Linked DNA regions of Homo sapiens: all the other regions are linked to region 1. The links are contacts of gene promoters, found by promoter capture Hi-C in blood cells and fetal thymus (Javierre and others, 2016). All regions are on one chromosome and are shown on one strand. Each heading gives the region's core, a stretch centred on a gene start or on the middle of the fragment in contact. The rest is flanking DNA. Distances are from core to core; before and after follow the strand shown.

Region 1 (2,640 bases), core at 98-2,597:
TTTCGTCAGCCAGAAGATCAGTGCCATTGCTTTCCTCAAGTTTCCTAAATTCCTCCATCATTCTAGATTTTATCACAGGTTCATGTTGTGTCTTTCTCAGTTTGAAGCCATAGTCAAACCCACTGCCATCTTCGGAGACACCCAGCATATCATACCACAGTCGGGCAGGCCCATAACGCCACTCAGCCACTCTTGGTTTGGTATCTGTCACTTTATCTACATCTCCAGTTGATTGGGAAAATTTGGACTCCACAGGAACCATCATCGTGATTTCATCATCAGCGAGACACTGCTCTGGGGGTGGTGGTGGAGCATAGTCATAGTTCCACAAAGACTTCTGGCTGACTTCTGATTCTACTGAGCATTCCACCTCCTGGATCTGCTCTTCCTGTATCAGCTCACGATGCTTCTTCCTCTTTCTCCGAGCACTCCGCCAAACAGATGGGACATTCTTCCCTGGTCCAAAAAGATGTAGGAAGCGTAACACTTTTCCAGGTCGAAATTCTGGAAAAAGTTCGGTGACACTTGGCAACAGCTTGGTGGCATCATGCTGCATAATCCCAGCCAATGGAAGGGTCAGCTTTCCATCCTCAGATTCTGCCTGTGTTGCTTCCTGAGGTCCCATCTCAGATTCTGAATCAGAGTAACTACTGAAATCCACTTTCTCTGAGGCCAAAAAGGAAGGGGCAATGATGGAGGGCAAGATGATGTCTTCTCCACTTTCAGACACACAGGTAATAGCATCTTGGTCCTTATCCTTCTTCATTGGTCCCGGGGGTGGAGGTGGAGGAGGCATCAACTTGCAATCAATGTCTTCACAATCAGCATCATAGTCATCTTCATCATAATCCGAGTGGTAAAGGGGCTGCAAGCTCCCCATCGTCTGCTGGTGTCTTTGGCTTTCATCTTCTGCCACCTCATTGATGTCTGAATAGTCTACAGCATCTTCTGTACTCCTAATCCACCCTTCATCATTTACCAAGGCACCGCCAGTCCCAGTCAATTCTTCATTTGCCGTGAGTTCAGTGATTAGGCTGCCCAGCCCCAAAGCCCCCAAGCCTGCCAAGTGCTTCTTACACTCATCATCCAAGACGCTTTCCCCCTCCAGCTGCCCCGCTCCACTGATGTTGCCGAAAAGGATACCCGCTAAAGTAAATGGGCCACCTCCAGATGAATCTTCCTCGCTGTCCGAGTCTGACATGATGGCGGCAGTGACGGTAGCTGCTGCCCTCAGCAGCAAATCGCAGCCGGGTCGCATAAACCGGAAATAAAACAACAGTCGCCCGGAAGTGATCTACTTAGCTCCCTTACCCTACCAGCGTCTACCGGAAGCTGAATAAAGGCGGGGGGAGGGGGCAAAGGGGCGGGGGGAAAAACCCGCAAAACTTTTTTTTTTTTTTTTTTTTGAGACGGAGTCTCGCAACGTCGCCCAGGCTGGAGTGCAGTGGCGCGATCTTGGCTCACTGCAAGCTCTGCCTTCTGGGTTCACGCCATTCTCCTGCCTCAGCCTCCTGAGTAGCTGGGACTACAGGCGCTCGCCACCACGCCTGGCTAATTTTTTTTTTTTTGTATTTTCAGTAGAGACGGGGTTTCACCATGTTAGCCTCTCGATCTCCTGACCTCGTGAACCGCCTGCCTCGGCCTCCCAAAGTGCTGGGATTACAGGCGTAAGCCACCGCGCCCAGCCTGTTTGCTGGTTTTTGAGACAAAGTCTTGCTCTGTCGCCCCAGGCTGGCGTGCAGTGGCACAATCTCGGCTCACTGAAACCTCCACCTCAGGAGTTCAAGAGATTCCTGCCTCAGCCTCCACAGTAGCTGGGATTACAGGCATGAGCCACCATGCCTGGCTAATTTTTTGTATTTTTAGTGGAGACAAGATTTCACCATATTGGCCAGGCTAGTCTTAAACTCCTGACCTCAGATGGTCAGCCCGTCTCTGTCTCCGAAAGTGCTGGGATTACAGGCGTGAGCCACTGCACCCAGCCTCTGTAAATCTCTTTATACATGAACTGCATATGTATGCTTCTCCAAATAATCTATAGCATTGTCATGCTTTACAATTTTGTATAAAAGGCATCTTACTGTGTGTACTCGTTTTTTTTTTCCCCCTTCCTTTTTTTTAAGAGATGGGATCTCACTATGTTAGCCAAGCTGGTCTTAAACTCCTCCTGGCCTCAAGCAATCCTCCCACTTTGGCCTCCCAAAGTGCTGAGATTACAGGCAAGAGCCACCAAACCCGACCTTACTGTATGTACTCTTAGCCAGAATGTTTTCTGGATAAAATTTATGTTTATGATATTCAACTATGTTGATGCATTCAATTCTATTTTTATAGCTCTATAGTGTTCTACAGTATGGTTATGCTACAATTTATCTATGTTCCTATGTTTGTTCATTTAAATTGTTCCCAAATTGTTCCTCTTATAAATAATGTATATGATTCCTTGAGCATATGTAGGACACATTCTCCAGGGTATACATCTAGGAGTGGAATTACTAGATTTTACAATATATGCTTTTTCAACTACACTTGCTATTACTAAATTGTTCTCCAAAGTAGTTGTACCATTTTACATACCTAACAGCAGTGTATAAAAGTTCTCACCTCTCCACATCCATTCTAACACTTAGCATTGTCATT
Region 2 (2,640 bases), core at 47-2,546, 350 kb after region 1:
TCCTTTGATTTCATTTGTAATTAAGACCTCTGTGGAGTGGTCATTTACAACATGAAATGTACTGAAATTCCAAAATTGTATTCTGACCTGCATTTTGGGGTCCTGCATAGAAATCTTCAAGCCTTGACTCCAGTGGCCCAGGGATTCCTAAAAAAAAAACAAAAAAAAAAACAAAAAAAAAAAAAAACAAGCAATGTAAATTACAAATGCCAATAATTAAATTTGGCAACAGTTAATACTGTGTGATAGCACAACTAAACTTGGAAATAAGCTTAGTTTTTGAGAATTAAACAAGATTCACTTGACTCTGCTTCACTCCATTGCCTTCCTATATTCTCTTTTTTTTTGAGACAAAGTCTCACTCTGTCTCACCCAAGCTGGAGTGCAGCGGCGTGATCACTGCAACCTCCGAAGTGATTCTCCTGCCTCAGCCTCCCAAGTAGCTGGGATTACAGGTGCCCACCACCACGCCCAGCTAACTTTTGTATTTTTTAGTAGAGACGGAGTTTCACCAGGTTGGCCATGCTGGTCTTGAACTCCTCACCTCAGGTGATCCACTGGCCTCCACCTCCCCAAGTGCTGGGATTACAGGCGTGAGCCACCACACCCGACCCTATATTCTTTCTTTTTTTTTTTGAGATGGGGTTTCGCTCTTGTTGCCCAGGCTGGAGTACAATGGCGTGATCTCGGCTCACTGCAACCTCTGCCTCCCGGGTTCAAGCGATGCTCCTGCCCAGCCTCTGGAGTTGCTGGGATTATAGGCATGCACCACCACGCCCAGCTAATTTTGTATTTTTAGTAGAGATTAGGTTTTGCCATGTTGGTCAGGCTGGTCTCGAACTCCTGACCTCAGGTGATCTGCCCATCTCGGCCTCCCAAAGTGCTGGGATTACAGGCGTGAGCCAGCACACCCAGCTGTTTTTTATTATTGTTGTTGTTTTTTGAGATGGAGTCTCGCTCTGTCGCCCAGGCTGGAGTGCAGTGGTGCAATCTCAGCTCACTGCAACCTCCGCCTTCCAGGTTCAAGCAATCCTCCCGCCTCAGCCTCCCGAGTAGCTGGGATTACAAGCATGTGTGTACCACCAGGCCCAGCTAATTTTTGTATTTTTAGTAGACATGGAGTTTCACAATGTTTGCCAGGCAGGTCTCAAACTCCTGACCCTCAAGTGATCTGCCCACCTCGGCCTCCCAAAGCGCTGAGATTACAGGCGTGAACCACTGCACCCAGCCAGCCTTCCTATATTCACAGCTGGCTGTTCTAAATGAAGGCGAGAAATGCCAGAGTATGAGTCATACCTTCTTTGCCCTCTCTCACTGCAGCTACAGCCTGACCAATTCTCCACTTTGACATCAGCATATGAATTACATGATCTATGAAAACCTTCTATAGATGCATAAACAACTGATCCACTTTAGTTGTTCAATGTTAAGTACACACTGCCATTATTGTTGTACCTTCAGGTGGCTTACCTCAGGAATTTAAGAAAAAAGCACATAAAGGAACATTCATCCAAATGATTTTCACGCCACAAACAAGTGACTCTTTCATCATGGTTAATAACCCCTCACGCATTTCTGAACTTTAAAGTGTACAAAACAATTAAGCAGTCATTATATTTCATTTCTTCTCCACATCATCTACCAATCACACTACCCTCACCTTTTTGATAGGTGCATCTTTTCCCTTCTTTAGGGGCACAGAGCATTGGCCAGAGTTGCTCCCAGGTTCCAGCCCTGTCCCAGCCTCAGCTTCCTGAGCAGCATCCCTTTCTATAGAATCACTGTTGCCTGATCTCTTTCTCTTCCTGTGTGTTTCCAGGCCAGGGTTCTTTGCCTCTTCCTCAAACTCTACAATATATGGATAAAGTTCATTCACCATGTGGAGAACCTGGCCAGGCTGCAGCTTCACCTCTTGGTCCTTCCCAATTACGACTGAGTCAATGCTGGTGGGATTGACTCCTACCTATGGAATAAACAATCAGAAAATAATTATAATAATAGCAACAGCACCTACAGTAAGATAGCCACTGCTATGTTAACCACTTACTATATGCCAAGCACCTTGCCTTATGTTCACCTATATTACTCCATCACTTCCATACATGACAGAGAAGCCTTCACTGGCTGGCACAGACACTCTAAAGTCAACAGCATAAGAAAATCATCGAGTATAAAATTCCAAGTTATAAATACACCTACCTGCTTTACCTTGACATATCCCTTGTTACACTCTGCTTTCAACTGTACTGAAAGAGATTGGAAAAAGTTAAACACAAATGCAACAAAGAACCAGGCACTTGCTCCTATCTTCCCTAAAGAAAACAAGCTTCACTACAGGCGGCAGCTGAACAGGTGGTGTTTCCTTAAAGGCCTATTAGCAATCACCTGTTATTGCAGGTGGCTGGAGCTCCAAATCCTACCAATTTCTAAAGGTTTAAATCCTTCCATAAAATGTCCAACAGCGTACATACTCCCTTAGCTATTGCCAAGATCCCTATGAGGCAGCTTCAATTAATCCCCACAAGTTTCCCTATTCCAGAACCCCTGGCCTGCTCATGATCACAGACTCTGCCGCCAGAAAAGAAGACCTGTTTCTCCCAGCCTGGGCAGCATGGCAATACCCCGTCTCTACAAAAAAAT
Region 3 (2,640 bases), core at 93-2,592, 330 kb after region 1:
AAATAAGAGTTATAAAGAAAACCTACTTTTCTAAAAAACAGCGTTTTATAAGCAGACATCTAGCAAATATTATCAAGAAAAAAAGAAGAAATACAAAATGCAAGAAATGAGAAATTGGAATAGGAACAACAGAAGTCAAAATGTGGCCAAAAAGGCCAGGTGCAGTGGCTTATGCCTATAATCCCAACACTTTGGAAGGCTGATGGGAGGATCCCTTGAGGCCAGGAGTTCAAGATCAGCCTGGGCAACATGGTGAGACCCTGTCTCTACCAAAAAAAGAAAAAAAAATTAATCAAGTATATAATCTTTGTTTGTCTCTCAAAAATATATTAAAAGGGACTCATTTATACCCAGAGAGACCAACCCTTCTTCAAATCCCCTTCTTTTCCCCAAATCTCCCAGAGCCCTCCAAAGCTCCCACTTCCCAGATGCCTCAAAGTCTGCCCCAAATATTCACCTATCTTTTTCAGTCCTTCACCCCCTTCTGTCTTCACTATGTAGATTGGTTTAGCTTCACTAACTTTTTTGTTTTCTTTCCACTTCTCCCATTACTTGATTTCTCTAACACAAAGGATGTTCTGGGAACTGATCCAACAAGCCAAAATTCTAACCATTCTTCTCATTTTCCATCTTTTCTTCCCCTTTTCCTGATACTTTTGTTAAAATCTGGGGACCAGGCCAAATACATAAATCAATCTATAAATCTTATTCCCCAAACCCATCCCATCACGAATGTTTCAGAGTCAAAGTCAATACTGAAAGAGAAGCCCTAGGGAACCAAGAGGATTCACCCCCAGAATTCAAGGTGGTTCAGTATTTGGAAACCAAATGTAACATTTCATATCAACATAATTTACAAGGGAAATCATGGGATCTCAATGGGTGGTGAAAGGCATTTGTAAGTACAAACAGAAAGTTGCTATGGACAGCAATTTTGAATAACTAAAATGTAGTTGGTGTCTCGCAGACATTGAGGTTAGGGGCAAACAGAGAAAAAGCCACTATTTTTCTAGATCTAGTGTTAGGAATATCAGATCCATCAGATCAAATGAATTACCTTCACGTGTGTCATTCTCAGACTCAAGCAAATTTGGTCTTGAAATCTGGCCTTGCAGGATGCCTGTCTCTGGAGGGCCACAGAACACTCGAATGGAACTGGCATTATTTGTAAAAAAAAAAAAAAAATTAGCCACTTTTTGTTGTATCAGCTATTAATATAAATAATTGAATGTTGATTACATTCCTTTGTGACCTATCACTTTTTAAAAATAAAATTTGAGGCTTTTTTCACACTCCCAAATATGTATTCACTGTAGCTAATTTAGAAGCGTGCACAACAATATAACACAATTTAAATTATCCACATTCTTACCACCAAGAGAGGACCGCTAATTAACGTTTTAGTATATTCTCTCCCAGCATGAATTTGGGAATGCAAGCACTCTTGATGTTTAATTAGGACATAAGTTGGTTGCTGATATTATAAGTCACTTCTATGTTTCAAATCCCTCAATGGAACATCAGAGGCTACTAGAATAAAGAGTTCTGATAGATTCTCCAGGCAAGAGATTAAACTTTGCCCCAAAGCACCAGAGAGATTAGATGCCCAGTGGTAGCAGAGTGACTTTCTGTGTGTAGTTTGGAAAAAAGGACTGCCAGTTGGTTCAAAATAATTAGAATCTAGGGGATACACACACACACACACACACACACACACACACACACACACACACACACACGCACACCAGCTGAGAAGACCTGCCCTAGAAAATCCATGGATTATTGATTTTTGGGGTGCTTCCCTTGAAATTACATGCAAAACATATGGGAAAGGGGCTATCATCTTCACCAAATTTTGGATCTATGACTCCCTCAAAATGTCAGGACCCCTGGTACATAAAGTCCTTTTCAATTTTAATATTCTTGTACTCTTTGGCATTGGAGCTTTTATTCTGCCTGCTTAAAAGACAGAAGGCTTGGAAGAGATGGAAGACAGATGAAGCTAGGTTCTTCTATCAAAAGGAGGTTTGCGGGGAAGCTGGCCCATGGAAAATGCAGACACAGCCCTTTACCTTCTCTGTATATTGACCGTCCTGCTTTGACAGTGCTTCCTCTAATATTTGACCACCAGCGACTTAGCAATTGTCGATGTAAAAATGATGCCATTTTTGAAGAATATGCCCAAAAGAAGTGTCTGCTACCAGTGCTACTCCCAGGTATTCTTGTGATGTGAACAACAGTCACTAACTTGGGGTCAAATTAAGAAAATTTGCCAGCATATTTTCAATGCCTACCATGCATTGACATGCCCCAAGACCCATTTCATGATTGCCAGAATCAGGCTTCAACCTTGGCTCTAGCCAACTTATTATTTTTTTTAATAGAAAGAATGTTTTTTGGGGTTTGTTTGTTGAGACACAGTCTTGATCTGTCACCCAGGCTGGAGTGCAATGGCACGATCTCAGCTCACAGCAATCTCTGCCTCCTGGGTTGAAGCGATTCTCGTGCCTCAGCCAGCCAAGTAGCTGGGATTACAGGCGCGTGCCACCACACCTGGCTAATTTTTGTATTTTTGGTGGAGACAGGGTTTTGCCATGTTGGCTAGGGGCTAGGCTGTTCTCGAACTCCTGACCTCAAATG
Region 4 (2,640 bases), core at 41-2,540, 310 kb before region 1:
TTTTATGTAGTATAGTGCCCACAAACCCTGGAATTTATAATTGTAAAAGCTCAACCACAATGTATTTAGAATTGACGGCATAGTAGGCACTGTCCTAGCCACTGGGGATATCTAGATAAAGGAAATATTATAGAACTTGGCCTACTAGCCAATCAGGACATCTTCCCAACTGCTCTCTTTCCAGATAGAGTCAGCAAATCTCCCTCCCAGTTATCAACACTGAAGGGCACTATCCAATATCTGTATAGCTATGGAGTCACTATTAGAGGAGGATAAAATCAGGGTCGTCTCTCCCTTACCTGCCCTGACTCTCCCGGGACCCCCACCTCGTCTTCTGAGTTCACAACGGAGTTCTCTCTAGCCCAAAACCAACTCTTATAACACAGAGAGAAGAGAGTCACAGGTTTGTCCCTAGATGATAACACAGACTAATGCCCCTAAACAGACAACTTCAAGGTTTCTTTAAGTGGCTTAGCTTTTATTTACTAAGTCAGTAAAAAGTCTTTGTAGGTCTAAGACCGAAAAGAAAGCATAATCAACTACAGCTTCAACTGATTCATTTTTAAAGGAGAGTCAGGGTCATAAAGCAAACAGAATTACTCATCGATAGTGCCAGGAACTGACCTGTTTCTGATAACTGGCCCCCTTTTTTGAGAGGTGACTGTATCTGTTTCTTAATACCTGGGGCAAAGTCAGTTACACACCTTGTGATGACAGACAAAAAGAGGCAGCCAGGACAGAAAGACAAACTTCGCATGTTCTCACTCATTTGTGGGAGCTAAAAATTAAAACAGTTGAATTCATGGAGGTAGAGAGCAGAATGATGGTTACCAGAGGCTGGGAGGGTAGCTGGTAGAGGGTAGGGGGACAGTGAGGATGGTTAATGGGTACAAAAATGTAGTTAGATAGAATGAATAAGATCTAGTATTTCACAGCACAACAGGATGACTACAATCAACAATAATTTATTGTACATTTTAAAATAACTAAGCATATAACTGGATTGTTTGTAACACAAAGAAATAAATTCTTGACATAATGAATACTTCATTTACCCTGGTGTGATTATTACACATTTTGTGCCCGTATCAAACTAGCTCATGTACCCCATAAGTATATACATCTACTATGTACCCATAAAAATTAGAAATAAAAAAGTTTAAAGTTTAAAAACTAACAAAAAAGTTAAAATTAAATAAAAGCTTATTGAATAAGATATAAAGGGAAAAAAGGCAGCCAGAATGAGATCCCAATTGGTGGAAAGGGCAATGAACTTTAAACAGTGGTTCCCTATTCTATTCTGCAGTCTTCTTTATGGAAGCCGTATACATGTGTGCATGAAGACAGAGAGAGACCAACAGGAAAGAGAAAGTTAAAACAAGCTTTTAGAGAGTATTTCCCATGAGCATCTCATAGTCTAGTCAGGGAGATGGACAAGTAAGTTTGCAAGAATTGCAAAACAGTGTTTTACACTTCACAATGGAAGTGTCCTGGAGATACCAAGCAGGGAATGGTAAACACTGTTAGATGAAGGCAGAGAAGGCTTCATGAAAGAGGTGATGACTTTTGAAGGATGAGTAGGAAATTCTAGGTGCATTAGGGGATTAAGGGCAATTCAAACTGCATACACTGCACCTGCTTCACTTTGGTGAGTGGCTCTCAAATTTAGCATGCATCAAAGTCACTTGGAGAGTTTATTAAAGCACAGATTACTGGGCCTCATCCCCAGAGTTTCATATTGAATAGGTCTGAAGTGGGCCCACAAATCTGATTTTCTAAAAAGTTGGCAGGTGATGTTGAAGCTGAGAACTGCTGGCTTAGGTGCACTGTGAGGAAAAATTAGTGGAGAAAGATACTCTGAGAAATAGGCAGGGCTGATTATAAGGGAAATATAGACACTGTAATCTGGACAGTGGGACCCATTGACAGGTTCTAAGCAGTAGAGTGCAATAATCACATGTGAGTTATAAGAGGGCAACTCTGATGGAAGTGTGGAGGGAAAGGGTGGTTATAACACAGTACCAGTCAGCCAGTCAGGAAATGATGAAGTCATAACAAAGGCCCAGGGGGAGCAGTAGAAATATAGAGGATGGATCTAAGATTACTTATGCAAAAACAAAAACAAAACCCAGTCTCTTGAGCTATGTTCTAAAAGGAGGACAGTAAATCAGCTGTTTCCCTTGCCTCTAGAAACTGTTATTTGTTCTCTTGCCTTATTAAAATAAATATGCACGATATACTTCTGGGAAAGGGCACAGATTTTAGTAATGTTTACTTAACAACCATCATTTGTTCATTCTTTTTTCCAAGGAAAAGGGAAATACCCTTATTTGGTGAAGCAAGCGTGTCCCCATGGGTTTTCCATATGCATCTCTGTTGCCCACGAAGCGCTGGACTAAGCATGCCTGGGAAAAGAAAGGGGTAGGTTGGGGGAAGCCTGCGTATTCATAGCTCTAGGAGAAGCAGACCAGGAAGGCCGGAGTAGCATAGGGAAGGGATATAGAGAGGGCGAGAGGAAGGGCAGAAGCAACAAAAGCTGTGCACCTGCAAGGATGGAATAAGGATTTCTAGGAAGCCCTAGAAACAGCTGGTAGGTGATTGAATTTCCTGCAGCAATATTCTAGATGAGGGGCATTTACA
Region 5 (2,640 bases), core at 64-2,563, 310 kb after region 1:
GCTCCTGCCACTGCACTCCAGCCTGGGCAACAGAGCAAGACCCTGTCTCTGAAAATAAATAAATAAATAAATTTTTAAAAATCTTTAAATAGATTTTATGTTTCCAAGTCATTAAAGAACATGAGATGTCTTTCCATTTGTTCAGATAACATTTATAATTTTAATTGAGCTTTTATAACTTTAAATAGGTCTTATATCTTATTAATTTTACTGTCAAGGTGAAACTATTTTGATTTCTGAAATTTGCTTTAAAGTAGTACTACAGTAGGTAAGGTGGAGAGGCAGGATGAAACAAGAAGGGCAGAATATTGACGATTGTTGAAGCTGGTTATGGGTACTATTCTCTGGGTTTTTGTGGATGGTTTGGTATTTTGAAATTATACTCCCTGCTCTGTCGCCTGCCACCGCTCCCTGAGCCCGAGTGGTTCACCGTACCATGAAGACAGATGGCAGATGCCAGGAACTCGAGCCTCCAATCCCAGATGCTATGTCCAGCAAAGGCTCAGTGGTTCTGGCCTACAGTGGCAGCCCGGACACCTCTTGCATCCTCGTGTGGCTGAAGGAACAAGGCTATGACATCATTGCCTACCTGGCCAACACTGGCCAGAAGGAAGACTTCGAGGAAGCCTGGAAGAAGGCACTGAAGCTTGGGACCAAAAAGGTGTTCATTGAGGATGCCAGCAGGGAGTTTGTGGAGGAGTTCATCTGGCCGGCCATCCAGTCCAGCGCACTGTATGAGAACCGCTACCTCCTGGGCACCTCTCTGGCCAGGCCCGGCATCGCCGGCAAACAAGTGGAAATCGCCAAGCAGGAGGAGGCCAAGTATGTGTTCCACGGCACCACGGGAAAAGGAAATGATCAGGTCCGGTTTGAGCTCACCTGCTATTTGCTGGCCCCCCAGATAAAGGTCACCGCTCCCTGGAGGATGCCCGAGTTCTACAACCGGTTCAAGGGCTGCAATGACCTGATGAAATAGGCAAAGCAACATCGGGTTCCCATTCCAGTCACTCCCCAGAGCCCGTGAAGCATAGACGAGAACCTCATGCACATCAGCTATGAGGCTGGAATCCTGGAACCCCAAGAACCAAGTGCCTCCAGGTCTCTACATGAAGACCCAGGACCCAGCCAAAGCCCTCAACACCCCTGACATTCTCGAGATCAAGTTCAAAAAAGGGGTCCCCGTGAAGGTGACCAACGTCAAGGATGGCACCACCCACCAGACCTCCTTGGAGCTTTTCGTGTACCTGAATGAAGTTGCAGGCAAGCACGGCGTGGGCCGTATTGACATCGTGGAGAACCGCTTCATTGGAATGAAGTCCTGAGGTATCTGCGAGGCCCCAGCAGGGACCATCCTTCACCACACTCATTTAGACATCAAGGCCTTCACCATGTACCGAGAAGTGCGCAAAATCAAACAAGGCCTGAGCTTGAAATTTGCTGAGCTGGTGTATACCGGTTTCTGGCATAGCCCTGAGTGTGAATTTGTCCGCCACTGTAATGCCAAGTCCCAGGAATGAGTGGAAGGGAAAGTGCAGGTGTCTGTCCTCAAGGGCCAGGTGTATATCCTCGGTCGGGAGTCCCCACTGTCTCTCTACAACGAGGAGCTGGTGAGCATGAACGTGCAGGGGGATTATGAGCCGATTGATGCCACGGGTTCATCAACGTCGATTCCCTCAGGCTGAAGGAATGTCATCTCCAGAGCAAGGTCACTGCCAAACAGACCCCTGTACAATGAGGAGCTGGGGCTTCCCCAATTTGCAGATTTTTTCCCCCAAGTACAGGTGCTAATTGTGATAATTTGTCATTGTGACTTGTTTTCTCCAGCTGGCAGCATAGTGGGTCTGCCAGGCCCCAGCTTTGTTCCCTGGTCGCCCTGAACCCTGCAAACGTCGTCATCGAAGGGAAGGGTGGGGGCAGCTGCGGTGGGGAGCTATAAAATGACAATTAAAAGATTTTTTTAAATTACACTCCTAAGTATTTTAAGCTTGTATAAAACTGTAGAAAATAAAATAGTTTTCTAATTTCCTTTCAAAGTACTTACTGCTAATACGGAGAGAAGTTGGTGCTTTTTGTATATTTATCTTGCATCTGCCCACTTTTCCAAAATGACCTACAATTCAAATAGTTTATTACTAAAGTCCCTCGAGTTTTCTAGGCAAACAATGAAGTCACATAGACAAACATAAATAGTTTTATTTCGTCTTCTTCAAAGTTTATGGCAATTATTTTCTTACCTTACTTTGACAATGTAACATAATAATAGCACATGGACATCCTTTTCTAATTTCTGATTTCAATGAAATGATTTCAGAGTTTTGCTATTTAGAACAATGTTTGCTATTGGGTTTAGAGATACAGTCCTTATCCTAGATAAGTAGTTTCCTTGTATTGTTACTTAGACTTGTTTTTAATAGAAAAGTCATCACACCCTATTGGCTTAGAATTTTTATTAGGAATGGCTATTAAATTTTATAAAATGTTCCTCCAGTGTATATTGACAGGATCATATGGTTTTTCCTTTATAGTATTATCATAATTCATTACTAACGGTAATAGATGTCTTGATAGTGAACCAGCCTGTACACCTGAAATATATAGAATAGGGCATAATTAAAATACTCTATAGCAGTATATTATTAT
Region 6 (2,640 bases), core at 75-2,574, 290 kb before region 1:
GTTGCTCAGGCTGGTCCCCCTACTTGGAACACGAGTCTCTCCTTTCTCTTTGTTACCTTCACGTTATCTTCAGGTCTTGATTCACAAGTCAGTTTCTCCAGAATATCTTCCTTGATCCTATCAAGGACCCTGCTACGTGCTCTACGTGGGACTTTCCTTAGCAGAGCACTTACTACATTGTATCCTAATTGTTTGCTTAATTTTCTGTCCCTATAATTAGATTAAATTCCATGAAAGCAGAACTGCACTTGGCTGGGTCACCTGAATCTCTGCTCCAGGTTTGGTGCATAGCAGGCACACAGAATGTTTTATGTGGATTTATCAATCAATTAACTCATGACACATTTAAAGGGCCTCAGCAACAGTCAAGATGGAATAACATTGAGTGGCCATACTGCTCATCAATCTAATTGAACATGAAAACAGATTAATTCAAATTTCCCACACCAAATATATAACTCAATGCAAAAGGCCCTGTCCCTCACATATCCAAAGGGGTTCACTGGTAAGGGCAATAAGTCATAGAAGAAATGTAAGTAGAAAGATCATTTGAAACCCCAAATTATTAAACATTTTTTATTCCTACTTTTAGTTTCTTCACCACAATACCTTTTAACAGAGTCACTAACAAAAAAGGAGGGGAAATCACGCACCGACTTTCCTCTCCTCCCTCATCTGCCTTCTGCCTTCTGGAAGCCTTCAGATGAGCTGGCAATAGCCAGAAGAATGAAGAATAAAGGGTGTGAATAACCCCTGCGCTTTAGCTTTCAGTTTCACTTTCTGACAAAGGATCAGAGTCTTGCCCAAGGCTGGAACAACCTGGGGAGCCTGCATTCAAGCTCTGTATTCAGGAAATAGTCAGCATTCTGCATCCCAGTCCTGGAGGCCCCCTGCTCAGGAAGCTTCCTCCCACAGGCTGCCTCTCCACCTAAGAACCGGGATACCTGGGACATTAGGTCCAACATCCATCGGCATCACAGGTATTGTCCACACTTGGACAGCCACTGAACATGCCTCTGAGTAGCAGTGTTACCACTGAGGGCGGTGGGGTGGAGGGGAAGAAAACCAGTGCTGCACTTTTCAATGGAAATGCTCTCGTTTGATCTCTCGTATCAGTGAAGGTTGCTTTTTCTGCAAACCTGTCACTGCATGTGATGCCTCTATTACATACACAGCCTCTGGCAACATGGACAAGGCTAAATCCCTGCCCCAAATCTAAATGTGCCAAAGCAGATCAAAATATGAGGTAGTGCTTAAGTTGATATGGACAGCAATTCACAGGCACTGACATCTAAGTTCTTTCTTTGTTTCTGTCAATTTCCAACCGGACTGCGGCAACCTAACTGGATACCCCATCACTACCCTCCTCCTTCTCAAACCCCATCTTCATTCCTGCTCCTTAAAACCATTATCACCACCAGAAACTACCCAGATCCCAGTACATCCTACAATGCTGATCATTGGATTCTAGCAGAGAGGCAATGGAAACACAACATGACATTTCCTGTTTCCAAACAGAGCCCAGGGAAAGCACCGCTCCACTGATAAATGCTTGCTTTCAGGCACTCCCAGCTACCCGCAGGTGGTTCATATGCATACCCAGTTGGAGAGGGACTCTTTCCAGTCTAGACCAGCTGCTCCACTAAGCCAGCCTCTGGTTGCCTCAGCTAAAAAATGCATCATCATTTTTACGACGATGCCCACAGATTAATAAACCATATGCAAAAAGACGGCCATCCAAATAATTAAGCTTCCTATTGCAGATATTGTAAAGTCATGACAGATCCAGGTGTGCCTGAAATTCTGGCTCCTTTATTCAGCACACTTACGAGCAGATAAAGTCTTTTGTTATAAACGTCAGGTGCCTTCTTAAAGCATAGTGACAAACCAGGATAAAATAACTTCCTTTGGCCTTTCACCCAGAATGCAAGCACTCCTCTCTGGGCAGGAAGGCACCAGTAGGATGACTATCAAAGCCCCCACCTAGAATAAATCTACATTTACAGAGGGGTGAGAACAATAACTGATGTTGAATCTTGTTGCATCTACATTTTGGGAGGTTTGGGAAAGAGGACAGAAGATAGACCTTGCTGGGACTGACTCTTTCAGCTTTTTAAAGAATAATGTGTTTCTTACTACAAAATTGGCTTATGCTCACTGTCGAAATACAGACAAGCATAGGAAAAAAAATAAAGTAGTGCTGATTCACTTTCCCAAAGTAATCACTGTTAAGATTTTAGTGCAATTCCTCCTTTCCCAATGCGTGCGTGTTGTGTGTTTTAGATTATGAGAATGAATTTGTAACTGGTATTTTTACTTAATAAAAACTACTATATTAATAATATTTTGTACATTTTTTTTTTGAGACGGAGTCTTGCTCTGTCGCCCAGGCTGGAGTGTAATGGCGTGATCTCGGCTCACTGCAGCCTCTGCCTCCCAGGTTCAAGCAATTCTCCTGCTTCAGCCTCCTGGGTAGCTGGGACTACAGGTGCCCGCCACTACACCTGGCTAATTTTTTGTGTGTATTTTTAGGAGAAATGAGGTTTCACCATGTTGGCCAGGATGGTCTTGATCTCCTGACCTCGTGATCCGCCCGCCTCGGCCTCCCCAAGTGCTGTGATTACAGGCATGAGCCACCGT
Region 7 (2,640 bases), core at 102-2,601, 280 kb after region 1:
AAAACAGATTGATACGTGAGAAGAATTTCAATAACGGGAGAGGAACCATTTGGGTGAATCAAGCCCTTCCCAGTCTTCAATAACTTGGGGCTCCTTGGACAGCCCACATCATGCCAAAAAAGGCATTCTCACAGTTGGGAAGAACTGCATCGGACACCAGTGTCAAAAAGAGGATTTTTAAACTCGCTCTGACCAACATCCCTACGCATCCACTGACAAATATTCTCTGCGACCTAACAGCTGATATTCCTTTTGTTCTCCTAATTAAAAACTTTTATGGCTAAATGCAACATGGTATACTGGATTGGATCCTGGAACAAAGAAAAGACATTAGTGGAAAAACTGGTAAAATATGAATATGTTCTGTATGTTAGTTGATGATATTATATCCCAGTTTTGACAATGTACCATCGTTACATAAGATGTTAACATAAGGTGAAGCTGGGTGAAGGGTATATGAAAACTCTGTACCATCTCTACAACTCTTCTGTAAATCTAAAATTATTTAAAAACAAAAAAAAAGTTTTAGTATTTGTGGTAGAGGATACCTCCCATATCAGTCTTTGCTTTCTTTACATAAGGAGAATACTGGTGCAACACTTCTCATGGAGTTTATAGGATATTGAGAGAGCCAAGTAAAAAGGGCTCCCTGGAGAATCTCCAACCCACCTGTGCACTGGGAGGACGGGGTGGGGCCTCAGGAAGTTTGAGCGGTTTGCAGGGGGAGGAGCCTGGCCGCTCCTGTTCCCATGTGGTAACTGGGGATTCAATCTAGCAGGATTCTCACTTTGCTGAGAGTCCCTGTTTCCCTTTTTTTCTTCCTTTTCACCCAATGAACCCTGCCCTACACACCCTACAACGTGTCCATGTGCCTAAATTATCCTGGTCGTGTCACAAGAAACTGATTTTCCAACAACAACATTTGGGCACAGTGTAATCATGGCCTATAATCTCTTTTATAATTCTATAATTTTAAATATCTGATTAAGCTATTTCAAAAAAATTTTTCTTTTCTTTTTGTTTTTGGAGACGGGAGTCTCGCTCTGTCACCCAGGCTGGAGTGCAGTGGTGCAATCTTAGTTCATTGCAACCTCTGCCTCCCAGGTTCAAGTGATTCTCCTACCTCAGCCTCTCAAGTAGCTGGGACTACAGGTATATGCCACCTCATCTGGCTAATTTTTTTTTTTTTTTTTTTTTTTTGAGATGGAGTTTCTCTCCGTCGCCAGGCTGGAGTGCAATGGCGCAATCTCGGCTCACTGCAACCTCCACCTCCCCGGTTCAAGTGAGTCTCTTACCTCAGCCTCCCTAGTAGCTGGGATTACAGGGGCCCGCCACCACGCCCAGCTATTTTTTTTTTTTTTTTGTATTTTTAGTAGAGACGGGGTTTCACCATGTTGGCCAGGCTGGTCACGAGCTCCTGACCTCAAGCGATACACCCACCTTGGCCTCCCAAAGTGCTGGGACTACAGGCATGAGCCACTACACCCGGTCTAATTTTTGTATTTTTAGTAGAGATGGGGTTTTACCATGTTGCCCAGGCTGATCTCGAACTCCTGACCTCAGGTGATCTGCCCGCCTCTCCCCATGTCTGCGTGGGTTTTCGTAGGGTACTCTGGCTTTCTCCCACATCCCAAAGCTGTACACGTTAGGTAAATCGGGTGTCTAACTGGTCCCAGTGTGAGTCAGCGTGGGTGCTTGTGAGTTTGCCTTGCGATGGGATGTCGAACTCCAGGGTTGCTTCCCACCTGGCACTCAGAGCTGCAGGGAGAGGCTCTGGCCACCTGCACCCTGAACTGGAATAAGCGGGTAGTTATCTGACTTGCTTTCATTAATTTTTCTTTTTTTTTTCTTTTTTTTTTTTTTTTTTTTTTTGAGATGGAGTCTTGCTCTGTCACCCAGGCTGGAGAGCAGTGGCGCAATCTCAGCTCACTGCAACTGCCGCATCCCGGGTTCCAACGATTCTCCTGCCTCAGGCTCCCGAGTAGCTGGGATTAGAGGTGCTGCCACTACGCCCAGCTAATTTTTGTATTTTTAGTAGAGACAGGGTTTCACCATGTTGGCCAGGCTGGTCTCGAACTCCTGACCCTGTGATCCACCCACCTCGGCCTCCCAAAGTGCTGGGATTACAGGCGTGAGCCACCACACCTGGCCGGCTAATTTTTCTTAAGTATATGTACGGTCCACTTTCATATTTCAATGTGTAATATTAAAAGTGTTTGGAGTCTTTATTTAGAAGTTTGGTGATGTTTCTGTGACCAGAAATATGTCATAGGAACTTGACTCTTGTTTATATCAATTAGCCTATGGTAAAATTGGTTTTGTTAATAACAGATGTTGGCAAGATTTTGGAAAAAAGGGACTGCTTATCCACTGGTGGTGGGAATGTAAACTAGTTCAGCCACTGTGAAAAACAGTTTGGGGATTTCTCAAAGAAGAGAAAACAGAATTTCCATTCAACCCAGCAATCCCATTACTGGTTATATACCCAAAGGAATATAAGTCATTCCACCAAAAAGACACATGCACTCATATATTCATTGCCGCACTATACAGAATAGCAAAGACATAAAATCAAACTAGGTGCCCACCTACAGTCGACTGGATAAAAGAAAAATGTGGTACATATACATCATGGAATAC

What was found. The method cuts DNA at HindIII sites, captures the fragments that hold promoters and counts their contacts. A CHiCAGO score of 5 or more calls a contact.
Region 2: a contact is called between a fragment that was not itself captured here and the fragment with the promoter of TAF1L in region 1, in 1 of 17 cell types (M2 macrophages). The highest score is 6.4, in M2 macrophages.
Region 3: a contact is called between a fragment that was not itself captured here and the fragment with the promoter of TAF1L in region 1, in 2 of 17 cell types (M2 macrophages and M1 macrophages). The highest score is 8.5, in M2 macrophages.
Region 4: a fragment that was not itself captured here is called in contact with the fragment with the promoter of TAF1L in region 1 in 1 of 17 cell types (activated CD4 T cells); the score reaches 5.2 in activated CD4 T cells.
Region 5: a fragment that was not itself captured here is called in contact with the fragment with the promoter of TAF1L in region 1 in 1 of 17 cell types (M1 macrophages); the score reaches 5.2 in M1 macrophages.
Region 6: a fragment that was not itself captured here is called in contact with the fragment with the promoter of TAF1L in region 1 in 1 of 17 cell types (neutrophils); the score reaches 6.8 in neutrophils.
Region 7: a fragment that was not itself captured here is called in contact with the fragment with the promoter of TAF1L in region 1 in 1 of 17 cell types (M2 macrophages); the score reaches 5.5 in M2 macrophages.

Annotation. Positions count from the first base shown.
Region 1 is chr9:32,634,322-32,636,961 of GRCh38, forward strand. It overlaps TAF1L (TATA-box binding protein associated factor 1 like), which reads right to left and starts at 1,348. Exons shown (of 1, transcript NM_153809.2): 1 at 1-1,348. The coding sequence starts at 1,258. The HindIII fragment of the contact is 7,933 bases long and covers 1-2,640 here.
Region 2 is chr9:32,985,884-32,988,523 of GRCh38, forward strand. It overlaps APTX (aprataxin), which reads right to left. Exons shown (of 8, transcript NM_001195248.2): 3 at 2,200-2,246; 4 at 1,661-1,963; 5 at 88-147. Among named protein-coding and RNA genes, the nearest start is that of APTX, 14 kb to the right of the region's middle. The HindIII fragment of the contact is 2,055 bases long and covers 270-2,324 here.
Region 3 is chr9:32,965,619-32,968,258 of GRCh38, forward strand. No RefSeq gene overlaps it. Among named protein-coding and RNA genes, the nearest start is that of APTX, 35 kb to the right of the region's middle. The HindIII fragment of the contact is 4,510 bases long and covers 1-2,640 here.
Region 4 is chr9:32,320,424-32,323,063 of GRCh38, forward strand. All of the region lies in intron 1 of LOC107987059 (a long non-coding RNA gene), which reads right to left. Among named protein-coding and RNA genes, the nearest start is that of ACO1, 63 kb to the right of the region's middle. The HindIII fragment of the contact is 180 bases long and covers 1,201-1,380 here.
Region 5 is chr9:32,945,509-32,948,148 of GRCh38, forward strand. It overlaps the pseudogene ASS1P12. Among named protein-coding and RNA genes, the nearest start is that of APTX, 55 kb to the right of the region's middle. The HindIII fragment of the contact is 1,338 bases long and covers 645-1,982 here.
Region 6 is chr9:32,343,891-32,346,530 of GRCh38, forward strand. All of the region lies in intron 1 of LOC107987059 (a long non-coding RNA gene), which reads right to left. Among named protein-coding and RNA genes, the nearest start is that of ACO1, 39 kb to the right of the region's middle. RefSeq lists an enhancer at 621-915. The HindIII fragment of the contact is 848 bases long and covers 901-1,748 here.
Region 7 is chr9:32,918,112-32,920,751 of GRCh38, forward strand. No RefSeq gene overlaps it. Among named protein-coding and RNA genes, the nearest start is that of APTX, 82 kb to the right of the region's middle. The HindIII fragment of the contact is 8,648 bases long and covers 1-2,640 here.